2 separate regions of the Homo sapiens genome follow, and region 1 is linked to region 2. Evidence: promoter capture Hi-C in 16 types of primary human blood cells and fetal thymus (Javierre and others, 2016). All regions are on one chromosome and are shown on one strand. Each heading gives the region's core, a stretch centred on a gene start or on the middle of the fragment in contact. The rest is flanking DNA. Distances are from core to core; before and after follow the strand shown. Region 1 overlaps CCDC146 (coiled-coil domain containing 146). Region 2 holds the start of HSPB1 (heat shock protein family B (small) member 1).

Region 1 (7,418 bases), core at 2,525-5,024, 970 kb before region 2:
ATCAAGTGCTAAATACACTAGTTATGTTCTTCAAATCAAAAGATACTGGTTCTTGCATCTGGGATAAGAAACATATTCAAAAATGAAGGATTTGCTGGTAGTAAACCAGAGGAAAGAGTTTGTCAGCCTTCTCTCAAGGACTGAGAGCAAAGCCCTTTTGGTATGAGTGATTTGAAAGAAACTAGCCATAGAGCCAAGATTGATGTGTAGCATTTTTCTAATGCTGTTCTCCATGAGAATAGGGGTCAGGAAGAAACGAATATTTAAGTAACTGTACACATGAATAATAAAACAGATGGGAAAATGTAGTGTCATCTATTCTGTCTTAGGGGTGATAGTGACATTGTTTTTTTTTCTTCACCTTTGTCTTTAGGGATGTGGATGCAATGTGAACATAAAAGATTGCCTTCTTATGGAAACTGCAGCTAAGTACAGGTAATGTTTAACACACTAATTCCTAATGCTAAAAATACTCAAGGGATAAACATTTGTCCTTTATCAATTTCTGTATCTCAAGAAGAATTGTCTATTTTGGTTTAATACAAATTAGCTCATTTAATAATGAGGTTTGCTTTACATAGATTAGTCACACATAGATATACATGTATATCAGTTTTTGAAATTAATTGAAAATTATCTAATTCATAAAACGGATCAGTGTTTCTTATAACAAATAAGTATACCTCTGGTGTTTCTGTAATTTCTAAAGAGAAAAGGGAGGAAGTTTCTAACTAGGAAAGACTCACTTGAGTGGGATCTTCCCAGCCAACACCAAGTTGTCCCAGACCCTGACTTGGTGAAGATGGCTTTCTTCTTCCTTCTTTTCCTTCCTTCCCTCCCTCCCTTCCTTCCTTCTTATTCTTTATTTTTCGTTTTTGAGACAGAGTCTCGCTCTGTCACCCAGGCTGGAGTGCAGTGGCGCAATCTCAGCTCACTGCAACCTCCGCCTCCTGGGTTCAAGCGATTCTCATGCCTCTGCCTCCTGAGTAGCCGGGATTACAGGTGCCCACCACCACGCCAGGCTAATTTTTTGTACTTTTAGTAGAGATGGGCTTTCACCATGTTGGGCAGGCTGGTCTTGAACTCCTGACCTCAGGTGATCCACCCGCCTTGGCCTCCCAACGTGTTGGGATTACAGGCGTGAGAGACCGCTCCTGGCCCAAGATGATCTTCCCACATCTCTCCTCTCTCCTCTCCTTGTCCTGCTCCTGCATCTTACCCGCTTAGCCACCCTGTGCTTTGAAGCTGCCTTTCTTTCATCCAGTCCTCCCTGACCACTTCTTTACCTAGTGAAACCCAACTACTCCATGAACTTCACTCTTGCTGCAGCCTTCATTATGGAGTCTAAATTGTTTAACATGGATTAAGTGACTTTCATCATCTGACTTGTCCCGCTCTCTGGTCTCACTATTTGACATCCTTTCTCCCCATCTTCCCATGTGCCAGCCATCCTGAACTTCTTTTAGTTTCTTAAATATTAAAGTAGAAAAATAAACAGTGAAAGGGGGATGTGAAGTGCCTGCAGTGGGTTGTGCAATGTAGATCTTCTCTTTTTTGCAAAAATCTACTTCATACCTCATTGCTCACTAATGCTTTGGCGTGAGTGAGCTCTTTCTGCAGAATGAGAAGAAATACCATTCTATGTAAATCCTTACTTAGACTGAGAACAAGGGATGTGCTTAGAAACAGACCAAACAGACCACATCTGGGTCATGAGATAAATTCTTTTTTTTTTTTATTTTTGAGAGGAAGTCTCGCTCTGTCACCCAGGCTGGAATGCAGTGGTGCGATTTTGGCTCACTACAACCTCCACCTCCTAGGTTCAAACGATTCTCCTGCCTCAGTCTCCCAAGTAGCTGGGATTACAGGCACCTGCCACCATGCCTGGCTAATTTTTGTATTTCAGTAGAGATGGGGTTTCACCATGTTGGTCAGGCTGGTCTCAAACTCCTGACCTCAAGTTATCCACCCGCCTCAGCCTCCCAAAGTGCTGAGATTACAGGCATGAGTCACCATGCCTGGCCTGATAAATTCTTCTATTTTAGTAATATGTAATATCCTGTTTATTTTTAACAGGGAGCTTCTGGGCATGATCTGGACATAATCCTTATATGGAATAAACAATTCTAATGGTAGAATTTTAGCTTGCATGACAGGAGTGCTGCCTTACCATTTGTTTTATTGTTGATTTTAGGGGGGAATGTTGCACTGGCACTTTGTAGGAGGCCCAGGAAAATCATGGTGTGATGAAGCAACTAAGGGTATCTGGCATTCGATTAAATGATGCTGTCTTGATGAAGTTGGGAGGGACAGTTACCTAATGCTACCACTCTTGAGTTGTTCCTGGACAAATCACAGTGGAGTCTGAGATGGGAGTGAAAACTAAATGATATCTGCAGCCTATGCAGCTGCCAGCCCTGTCCACTGGAGGCACCCACTTTATTCTTACTGAAATTGCCATCTGTTCAAATCCTCCGATCATTATCAATGATCTCCTTTCCCATCTAAATTGTTGATTACTGTTAATTGAATCTTGGGACTATCTTTCAGTGCATGATTGAATCTCATTTAGGGAAGATTTATAGTCACTGGTACTTGAAGGAGAGGCACAGTTATAGTGGTTCCTTGGTATACATAGGGAACTGGTTCCAGGACCCTTTGAGAATACAAAAATCCAAGCATATTCAAGCAGTCCCAAAGTTGGCCCTGTGGAACTCACCTGTAAGAAAAGTGGGCCTTCCATATTTGCAGGTTTTGTATTCTGTGAGTACTCTACTTTTGATCTGCATTTGGTTGAAAAAAATCTGTGTATAAATGGACCCATGCAGTTCAAATCCATGTTGTTCAAGGGTCAATTGTATAGCTTTTCTTTTTTTTTTTGAGTTTCCTTCCAGTTCTTTTTTTAATATTTATATATTTTTATTATACTTTAAGTTCTAGGATACATGTGCACAATGTGCAAGTTAGTTACGTATGTATACATGTGCCATGTTGGTGTGCTGCACCCATTAACTCATCATTTACATTAGGTATATCTCCTAATGCTATCCCTCCCCGCTCCCCTCACCCCACAACAGGCCCCGGTGTGTGATGTTCCCCTTCCTGTGTCCAAGTGTTCTCATTGTTCAATTCCCATCTATGAGTGAGAACATGCAATGTTTGGTTTTTTGTCCTTGCGATAGTTTGCTGACAATGATGGTTTCTAGCTTCATCCATGTCCTAATGCACGTGGCATTATAATGAGGCTACCCTGAACTCTTGTAGTTATCAATGAATGGTTAAAAAAATGCAGTTACCTGAGCTTTCAGGAAATCCTTGGACTTTTGTTCCTTTTCATCAATTTTGATTTGAGTCATGCGGAGAAGGTTGACTACTAGCTCTTTCATGTTTTCTTGCTCCTTTAAAAGCTTGTTTTCTTCTGCAAGTTGTTGTTCTACTAACTTAGACTCCATTTCTGATATAATTTTCTTTTGAAAAAAAACACAGATAATATTATAAGTTATTTGTTTGAAGTAATACAGTAAAGCTAGTATCTTAGACTACCTTTTTACTTCCTATACAAAATGTATTTTTTTAAACAGGCCAGGTGTGGTGGCTCACGCCTGTAATTCAAGCCTTTGGGAGGCTGAGGCAGGATGATGACTTGAGGCCAGCAGTTCAAGACCAGCCTGAGCAACATAGCAAGATCCCTCTCTATAAAAAAAATAAAAATTAAAAATAAAGTAATGGTGTTTTAGCTTCATTGTTTTCATTTTGTAAAATAATGTGAAAATCGATGGGTTAACATGATAGAACCTCTTTGTATTTAGACTGTATTTTCAAGTGACTAAGAAAAAGAAGACACATAAAAACAAACGAAAATTTGAAATTAGACATTGGTGAAATAAAACATCTGTGGTTTACTTTTAATGTAATCAACAGCCCATAATTTAAAAATCTCATTCCTTTGAATACTTTTTGCGGTTCAAACATATTCTTTTTTCTCAAATTTAGTGTAGGATTGGAGTGGACTTTGAGATGAAGAAATATGCCCACATGAAGCAGGATCATACTCTCTTTGATGACTCTCTTATTGATAAGGTTTTGTGGAGCACAGTTAAAAGCACAACTTTGTATGAACGCTTCTTAGATAGAAGCTTAAATGAGCATTGATATTAACCTGTTGGGCCAAATTCCTCTTAGCTACTTCAACTTCCTTGTGAAGCTCTCGCCTTCTCTCAGATAATGTAGAATCATCTTTGGGGATAGCTTCCATCTGGAAATCAAAATTTAAAAACATGCATTTATGTAAGAAATAAATCTTTGGGAGGCTGAGGCAGAGAATTGCTTGAACCCGGGAGGCAGAAGTTGCAGTGAGCTGAGATCGTGCCACTGCACTCCAGCCTGGGTGACAGAGTGAGACTCTGTCTGAAAATAAATAAATAAATAAATAAATAAATAAAATTCACTGCTGTGTAGTCAACCTCATCACACACTTTTTGAAAATGCTGAGCAAATCACGAATCTCAATCTTATAAGAACTTCCCTTTATGCCAAATATTCTTTATAAGCCATGGCAAATTAAAATATGAAGACCTGCCAAAAATCTATAATTTGCCAGCTGCAAATGTTTATTATTTAGAAATAAATCTTACTAATAGCTAACATTTATTGAACATAAACCAAGTGTCCAGCAAGGTTCTAAATGCCTGTGTATACGATCTTATTTCATCATTACAATACCCCTCATGAGGTGGGGAATATTTTCTCCAATTGTACAGATGAAGAGAATGAGGCACAAACACATTTAAGCAACTTGCCTCAATGGTGCAGGTGTAAACCCAGGGAGGTAGACTTGGAACCCATGATCTGCCTAACTCATCTAACTCATGACCCAGCACTTTGGAGACATGAATATACTATGACTATTCAAATTATAGTTATTATAAAATGTGAGTACATTTATGAAATTGTATAGGATAAAGAAAAATATGTAATTTATTAATAATAGTGGGGATAGTTTGCTACTTATATATAGTCATTTGATTAGTAGCTGGAAATTTCTTACACAAAAGAAAAGCCTCAACTTTTTGGTTGATACCTAAAATTTCACCATTACATTTCTGTTGTAACGGCTTGCACTTTTCTCCTGTGTTGACGTACTTTAGGGAAAAGGCAAATCTCACTCTTTAAGTCTTTGTTGCCCTATTAGGAATGAGCTTGTCAGATTCTTTGTGATGAAGACGAGAGTAGAGAGGAGGACATGTGGCAGCTGATGGGGAAAGGGTACCATTCAAGGCTACAGGGAGGGTCATCTTGGGGTGCTTCCAGCCTACTTGACTTAGAGCAAGTTTAGAGTTGGCTATTTACACCAAAAGCTCATGACTCCAATCTGATGTGGTTCAGTTCCTACTGTGACAGCACACACTTGTAGGCCCTAAGGTTGAATAATGGCCAAAATTTAGACCCAAGAAAGGAATATCACACTGTCTAGTGATTTGAAGGTTACTTAACAGGATCTTTTTGAGGATCATGCTGCTATGTTAAAGTCACTAAAGTGTGTCTTTGGATGCCCCATCATCCATGAATCAGGGTATCTTCAGTAGCACCTTCTGTACCCTCAGGTGTCCATGTCCTGCTTTTCCATTGGGTCTCCTACCCTGGAGCACTAGCTCTTGAGATGCACACACTGGACTTAGGAAAACGAGATGTGGTCTTGTGAAACATGTCTGACAATATACAGAATGTTGTGGGCTTAACAAACATAAAATTGCTATAGCAGATCAGAAAAGGGAGAACTCAGTATAGAATTGAATAATTGGGAAAGCCTTCCTGGAAGATGTGAATATTCATCAAGGAAGTGTTGATTTCTCCTTTAGGAAAGTCAAGTTAAGACCTCCTGGATAGAGGAACTCCAGCAAACATCCTGGGTCCCTGTCTGATTCTCTGCTACAGGTGTGCCTGGAGTGGGCTGTCCTCATGCTCAGCTCCCGGGTGTCGGCAGATGTAAACGTGAATAACAGGGCCCAGGAACCCTTATGAGGTTTCGACAGAAAATATGATGAGAACACACTCACTAGCTACTATGTCAACTAAAGGCTCTCGACAGATTTTTCTGGCTTGAGGTCTAGACACTTTGGTTATTTCCAATATTTTGAAACACAAACAATACTTCAATAAATTGTATTCATTTTTGAACTCTGGCTACTGCTTCTCTGATACCATTTTAAATTCTCTGTAAAGCCCAGCTCTCTAGTTTCAGGCAGGAATTAGGTAGGCTTGGCTTGTGGAAGAGGTGACATGATAAGCCATTGGTAGCAGAGCCTCCTGGTTGCCTAGCCAATAGCTACCCTCCACCTTGATCTTAGCAACTCTATTAGTCAGGGTTCTTTGTATCTCCATATATATATATATATATATATATATATATATATATATATATATATATATATATATCTCCTATTAGTGTGTGTGTATATATATATATATAAAATAAAAAGGGGAGTTTATTAAGTATTAACTCACAGGATCACAGGGTCCCACAATAGGCCATCTGCAAGCTGAGGAGGAAGGAAAGCCAGTCTGAGTCCCAAAACTGAAGAAACTTGGAGTCCGATGTTCGAGGGCAGGAAGGGTCCAGCACGGGAGAAAGATGTAGGCTGGGAGGCTAGGCCGGTCTCTCATTCACATTTTTCTGCCTGTTTATAGTCTAGCCACACCGGCAGCTGATTAGATTGTGCCCACCCAGATTAAGGGTGGGTCTGCTTTCCCCAGCCCACTGACTCAAAGGTTCATCTCCTTTGGCAACACCTTCACAGACACACCCAGGATCAATACTTTGTATCCTTCAAGCCAATCAAATTGACATTTAGTATTAACCACGACAGCAACAGAATGCTGTTTTTTTTTTTTTTTTTCCAGAGCTGCAATGTATCCAGGAGTCCTCACACTTCTTTGCAGCTGGGGGTGCCCATATGAGCTAAGACAAGCCAATGAAATGTAAGTGGAAGTCTGTGAGGAGGGGTCCTGGGAAAGTGGCTGTTTTCCTGTTAAAAGGAGCTGGCCAAGCCAGCAATCATTTATGTCTTTTGCTCGTTGCCCTTCCTCCTCCTTTTGCCAGTTTATGCTTAAGGTGGAATAGCCATTTTCTGACCATGGAGAAACAATGTACACACTAAGGTTGACTGAAAGGGGAGCTAAAAGGATCCTAGACTTTTCATTATGTGAAATAACCGGTTGTGCCTACCTGTGCTCTTTTTATTAAGTGAGTAAAACAACTCCCTATTTAGCAAAATCATTATAGTTGAGTTTCTATTACTCATTGAGGCCAAATTGCAAACCTAACCTAATAGGTGTTTCTCTTGAAAGGAAACCTTCCCAAGGTAATCTGGAAAATAGGCTGGAGTTAGACTGAAGTCTCCATTAATGTGGGAGGAAAA
Region 2 (6,515 bases), core at 1-2,500:
CTTCCCTGACCCCACCCCCACGCCACCCACCCACCCCGACCTGGCGCCAGGACTCACGTGTATTTCCGCGTGAAGCACCGGGAGATGTAGCCATGCTCGTCCTGCCGCTCCTCGTGCTTGCCTTTGGGGGGAAGAGGGAAATCAGACTGCGGGGGAGGGGACTGCCTTTCGGCCCCGCTAGGCCAGAGGCCCCACCTCCTGCTTGGAAGCAGCCAGGACTGCAGGCTGGTAGGGATTAACAGAGGGGGTTGGGGATGGGGGCGTGCCCGCCGGTCTGGGCTCTCAGAAACTTCCGGAAAGTTCTTCGATTCAGAGTTTTGGGAGGAACGGAGCAGGGCGCGGAGCTGGGGAGTGAGCAGTACGCAGGCGCACTTGGAGCCGCGCACACGCCCACTCAGCGGCTAGAAACTGGCACCGCGCCAGGGAACTCCCCGCTTATCTGGGGATGGGGCTGTGGGTGGGAAGGGGACTCTGTAGAAAAGCGCATTTTCTCTCTTCATCGATGATCTTTAAAAAAATTTTTGTTTGCTTTTTTTTTGTAATGGCGCGGGGTCGGGGCGGGGGGGCGCGTCTCGCTATGTTGCCCAGGCTAGTCTTGAACTCCTGGCCTCAAGCGATCCTCCCGTCTCGGCCTCCCAAAGCGCTGGGATTACAGAGCAGAAAGCGCCCTTAGAAGCGACCCGCACTCCCAATTCCTGAGCAAGGGAATCAGGAGTCCTGTTTTTCCCGGTGCTGGGCCAACGTTTAACTCCCCAGGCCCCCGGGACCCCCGTTTCAACCGCACGCCCCCGGCCCTGCCCGCCCTGCTAGCCTCCTCCTCTCCCCTGCAGGAGCAGGGGGGCTCACCGGTGATCTCCACCACGCCATCCTTGGTCTTGACCGTCAGCTCGTCCGGGGCGAAGTGGTTGACATCCAGGGACACGCGCCAGCGGTCCGCAGTGTGCCGGATCTCCGAGACCCCGCTGCTGAGTTGCCGGCTGAGCGCGCGGCTGTAGGCGGGCGCGGCCACTGCGGGGCTCTCGATGGCGGCGGGGGGCAGGGGGCGCACGTAGCCTGGCCAGCTGCTGCCGCCTAACCACTGCGACCACTCCTCCGGCAGCCGGGGCAGCCCGAAGGCCTGGTCGAAGAGGCGGCTATGCGGGTACCAGTCGCGGAAGGGGTCCCAGCTGGGGCCCCGCAGGAGCGAGAAGGGGACGCGGCGCTCGGTCATGCTGGCTGACTCTGCTCTGGACGTCTGCTCAGAAAAGTGCGGGGCGCTGGGCTCGGCTGCGCTTTTATGCTCCTCCAGTCGGGTATTTTTAGCAGGCGGTGTTTGAGGTCTCTATTAATGGCAATGACCCGTTTGAGGGCCGCCCCTCCCCATGCACTCCTCCCCCAGCGTTCAGGGGCCGTGGGCGGGGCGAAGAGGGTTCAGCCCTCATCTGGAACCTTCTCTCGTTAAGGAAAGCAAATGAATTCGAGAGCGCGACGCTGGAGCCGTGCCACGGCAGGGCACTCGCCGGCCCTGGTGCTTAAGCGTTGCTGGCTGTGGCCCGTGGCCAGGGCCGTCCTTCTGTTAAGGAGGACAGAGCCAGACAGGTTGGGTTGGGGCATACAACTGAGAAGTGGCAGAGGCAGGATTGGAACCACACGCGTGTGAGATAGAATGTGATAAAAGGAGTCTGGTGCTTGAGCCCAGGAGTTGAGGCTGCAGTGAGCTATGATCTCACCACTGCACTCCAGCCTAGGCAACAGATCAAAGTCTTGTCTCTCAAAAAAATTTTAAAAAGGGGCTGGGTGCATGGCTCATGCCTGTAATCTCAGCACTTTGGGAGGCCAAGGCAGAAGGGTCCCTTGAGGCTAGGAGTTTGAGACCAGTCTGGGCAACATAGTGAGACCCTACTTCTACCAAAAAATATTTAAAAATTAGCTGGGCATGGTGGTGCATGCCTGTGGCCCCAGCTACTCCAGAGGCTGAAGCAGGAGGATCCTTTGAACCCCGGTGAGTAGAGGCTGTGGTGAGCTGGATTGCACCACTGCACTTCAGCCTGGGCTACAGAGCAAAACCCTGTCTCAAAATAAGTAAATGAATAAATACAAATACAAAAATAAAGCAGTCTGGGCTGGGCGTGGTGGCTCACGCCTGTAATCCCAGCACTTTGGGAGACCGAGGTGGGAGGATCACCAGAGGTCAGGAGTTTGAGACCAGCCTGGCCAACATGGTGAAACCCCATCTCTACTAAAAATACAAAAATTAGCTGGGTGTGGTGGCGGGCGCCTGTAATCGCAGCTGCTGGGGAGGCTGAGGCAGGAGAATTGCTTGAACCCAGAAGGCAGAGGTTGCAGTGAGCCGAGATCTCACCACTGTACTCCAGCCTGGGTGACAGAGTGAGACTCCATCTCAAAAAAAAAAAAAGAAAAAAGAAAAAAGCAATCTAGTAATCTGGTGTGGTTGTTAGGCGTGTGGACTTTGAAGCCAGACTGCCTGAATTCACATCTTTGTTCCATCACTAAGCAGATGAACTTGTGCAAGTTAGATTCTTTGTGCCTCAGTTTCCCCATCTGGAAAATAGAGATGATAATGATGGTAACAGTCATGCATTGCATAAAGATGTGTAAGTCAGCAAGGGACAGCAAATATGAAGGTGGTCCCATAAAATTATATTACTGGCTGGGTGCAGTGGCTGACATCTGTAATCTTAGCACTTTGGGAGGCTGATGTGGGAGGATTACTTGAAGCCAGAAGGCTGGAACAAGCCTGGGCAACACAGTGAGACCCCATCTCTACTAAAATTCAGAACAAATTAGCCAGGCATGGTGGCGTGGACCTGTAGTCCCAGATACTCAGGAGGCTGAGGTGGGAGGAGCACTTGAGCCAAGGAGGTCGAGGCTGCAGTGAGCCTGATGGTGCCACTGCACTCCAGTCCGCATGACAGAACAAGACCCTGTCTCAAAACAAACAAACAAAAACAATTACCGTGTTTTTACTGTACATCTTCTATGTTTTATTTATTTATTTATTTATTTATTTTGAGATGGAGTCTCCCTCTGTCGCCCAGGCTGGAGTGCAGTGGCCTGATCTAGGCTCACTCCAACCTCTACCTCCCAGGTTCAAGTGATTCTTCTGCCTCAGCCTCCTGAGTAGCTGGGACTACAGGCAAGTGCCGCGACACTGGCTAATTTTTGTATTTTTAGTACAGATGGGGTTTCACCATGTTCGCCAGGCTGGTCTTGAACTCCTGACCTCAAGTAATCCACCCGCCTGGGCCTCCCAAAGTGCTAGGATTACAGGCGTGAGCCACCGCGCCTGGCCATCTTCTATCTTTAGAAACACTAATACTTACCCTCATGTTGCAGCTGCCTTCAATATTTGGTGCAGTCATATGCTGTAGAGGTTTGTAGCCTAGGAGCAGTAGGCTAGACCATATGGCTTAGGTGTGTAGTAGGCTAGACCATCTAGGTTTGTGTAAGTCCACTCTGAGATGTTCCCACAATGATGAAATTGCCTAACAAGGAATTTGTTGAATGTGTCTGTTATTAAGTGACTCATGACTGTAATGGGTTGGCCTGAGGATTTGGTGACCTAATGCAGGTGATGACTTTGGCCCGGAGCCTGGTACATCATAATTATTGTTACCTGCCTGGGATTGAAGAGAGGGAAAAGGAAGGAGAATACATGGGGTTTGGCCATTTTCCCCCTTCCCCTAACAGCGCAGCTGGCCCAGATCAGAACCTCCATGGCACAGTGCTGAGAGGGGCCAGGAGGAAGATTACTGTCACATCTCCTACTATATGTATCTTTCCTTAAGAAGCACTGGTTGGCCGGGCGTGGTGGCTCCCACCTGTAATCCCAGCACTTTGAGAGTCTGAGGCAGACTTATTGCCTGGGTTCAGGAGTTCAAGACCAGCCTGGCCAACATGCCGAAACCCCGTGTCTGCCAAAAATACAAAAAATTAGCCAGGTGTGATGGGTGCCTGTAATCCCGGCTACTGGGGAAGCTGAGGCACGAGGATCATTCCAGGAGGCAGAGGTTGCGGGGAGCTGAGATCGCGCCACTGCACTCCAGCCTCGGTGACAGAACGAGACTCTGTCTCAAACAAAAAAGAAAAAACAAAAAAGAAAAAGAAACACTGGCCAGGAACCTCAAATGCCGCAAACTTGAATTAGTCTGGACTTCCTGTGTCATTCTGGGCAAATCCCCTCCTTTCTCTAGGCCTCAGTTTCCCTTTCTGCAGATTTTGATGCCCACATCACAGAGGGAGAGGGGAGCTCCAAGTAGTAGAGTCTGCACAGAAGTGCTTAGAGCCTGGAGCTTGCCCCTTGACCCTACCTCATCCATCTAAACACCAATGGGATCCTGGCTCCTATCTCCCAGCTTGGAGGGAGGGTGCTGCCCTAGGCTCCTGCCACAACCCTGACATTCCCTCTTTCCTGTCTTTGTAGGCATGGCCATTCCAGCCTTCCTTCTCCCCTGACTTAGGTCCCTGTTTTAGTTGTTGTTGTTTTTTTTTTTTTTGTCTTTTTTTTTTTTTTTTTTTTGAGCCAGAGTCTCACTCTATCACTCAGGCTGGAGTGCAGTGGCGCAATCTCAGCTCACTGCAACCTCCGCCTCCTGGGTTCAAGCGATCCTCCTGCCTCAGACTCCCAAGTGGCTGGGATTACAGGCATGTGCCACCATACCCGGCTAATTTCTGTATTTTTAGTAGAAACGGGGTTTCGCCATGTTGGTCTCAAACTCCTGACCTCAAGTGAGCCGCCTGCCTTGGCCTCCCAAAGTGCTGGGATTACAGGCATGAGCCACCACACCCGGCTAATTTTTGTATTTTTAGTAGAAACAGGGTTTCGCCATGTTGGTCTCAAACTCCTGACCTCAAGTCAGCCACCTGTCTCGGCCTCCCAAAGTGCTGGGATTACAGGTGTGAGCCACCGCACCCGGCCCTGTTATCCCTGGTTTTTAGACAAGGAAACTGCTGTGCACAGAGATTAAATGGCTTTCTGCTGTCTCCGGTAAAGTGCTCTCAGAGCCAACCTCCTGCCTCTCTAGTACCCAGGGCCTCCCACTTCTTCTGTCCCACTGTACTTGCTGTCCCTATCCTGGGACTGAGGCTCCACTCCTCCTACTTCTATGGGGAGCCAAGGCCACTGAAGTCTTGCCCTGCCCAGGCCCAGAATCGGGGCAGACTCCAGGCCACTCACCTTGATGAGCTGGGGAAGCAGCAAGTCCTCATGCCTTCTCTGAGCCTCAGTTTCCTTTTTGAGAGAGAGCTCATAAATGCCTTTCTCTCTCTCCTTTTTTTTTTTTTTTTTTGTTGAGACAGAGTCTCGCTGTGTTGCCCAGGCTGGAGTGCAGTGGAGTGATCATAGCTCATTGCAGTCTTGACCTCCTGGGCTCAAGTGATTCTTCTGCTTCAGCCTCCTGAGTCACTGGGACTACAGATGTGTGCCACCACACTTGGCTAATTTTTAAATTTTTTGTAGAGACAGGTGTCGCACCATGTTGCCCAGACTAGTCTTGAACTCCTGGCCCCAAGAGATCTTTCTGCCTAGGCCTCCCAAAGCACTGGGATCACAGGCGTGAGCCACTGCGCCCGACCTAGATGCCTTTCTTTCTTTCTTTTTTTTTTTGAGACGGAGTCTCACTCTGTCACCCAGGCTGGAGTGCAGTGGTGCGATCTTGGCTCACTGCAAGCTCCGCCTCCCGGGTTCACGCCATTCTCCTGCCTCAGCCTCCAGAGTAGCTGGGACTACAGGCGCCCACCACCACGCCCGGCTAATTTTTTGTATTGTTTTTTTTTTTTTTTTAGTAGAGACAGGGTTTCACTGTGTTAGTCAGGATGGTCTTGATCTCCTGGCCTCGTGATCCACCTGCCTCGCCTCCCAGAGTGCTGGGATTACAGGTGTGAGCCACCGGCCCTAGATGCCTTTCTGTCTTACCCACCTGCTCCCCATCAGGGAAGAGCTGGGGCTGGACCATGAATCTGAGATCACTCCTGGAAAGGCCTCTGAACTCCTGGGGCTCTCGGGAGCCAATGGTGGGAGGCAGACAGGACCCCTGCCTTCTACCTCACCTCCCTGGCTGGGTCATTGTCATGAGCCCAGTGGGTCTCATTTGGGAGCTCCTGGTTGACACCCCATGGGACAGCATCAGAAAGCCCCAGGTTTTTGCTCCCCAGTGCTCCCAGCCCCACCCATCCCCAGCTGTATAAAGTCGAGGTGAGGTCAGGAGCCAGGGAGGGCCCTCATCTGCCTCTGCCTGCTCACCTTGGCCCAGACGGGAGCTGGGGGTGCCCCACCCCAGAGGGAGCTGTCAGGTGTGGTTATAAATGCTTCCAGGTGTGGCTCTATCAGGCCCAGCCATGCTCTGGATGGGAGCTGCCAGCCCTTTGTAGACACAAGCTCCCTTCATCTTGCCTGAAACCAGGACGGACTGGATCTATTCCTGCTGCCTGAGAGATTGTGCAACTCAAGGCACCAAACCCACACACTCTGCTCACTCCCTCGGAATTCACGTTCATCTTCAAGGGCTCAGTTTTGT

What was found. Contacts are between HindIII fragments. The CHiCAGO score rates a contact against its expected background, and 5 or more counts as called.
Region 1: a fragment that was not itself captured here is called in contact with the fragment with the promoter of HSPB1 in region 2 in 1 of 17 cell types (total B cells); the score reaches 5.0 in total B cells.

The regions. Positions count from the first base shown.
Region 1 is chr7:77,270,531-77,277,948 of GRCh38, reverse strand. It overlaps CCDC146 (coiled-coil domain containing 146), which reads right to left. Exons shown (of 19, transcript NM_020879.3): 10 at 4,160-4,255; 11 at 3,297-3,467. LOC102723791 (a long non-coding RNA gene) reads left to right here. Exons shown (of 6, transcript XR_927688.3): 2 at 374-435. Among named protein-coding and RNA genes, the nearest start is that of CCDC146-AS1, 26 kb to the right of the region's middle. RefSeq lists a silencer at 6,173-6,355. The HindIII fragment of the contact is 729 bases long and covers 3,410-4,138 here.
Region 2 is chr7:76,297,408-76,303,922 of GRCh38, reverse strand. It overlaps HSPB1 (heat shock protein family B (small) member 1), which reads right to left and starts at 1,250. Exons shown (of 3, transcript NM_001540.5): 1 at 847-1,250; 2 at 58-121. The coding sequence starts at 1,210. RefSeq lists a silencer at 4,217-4,511. The HindIII fragment of the contact is 12,431 bases long and covers 1-6,515 here.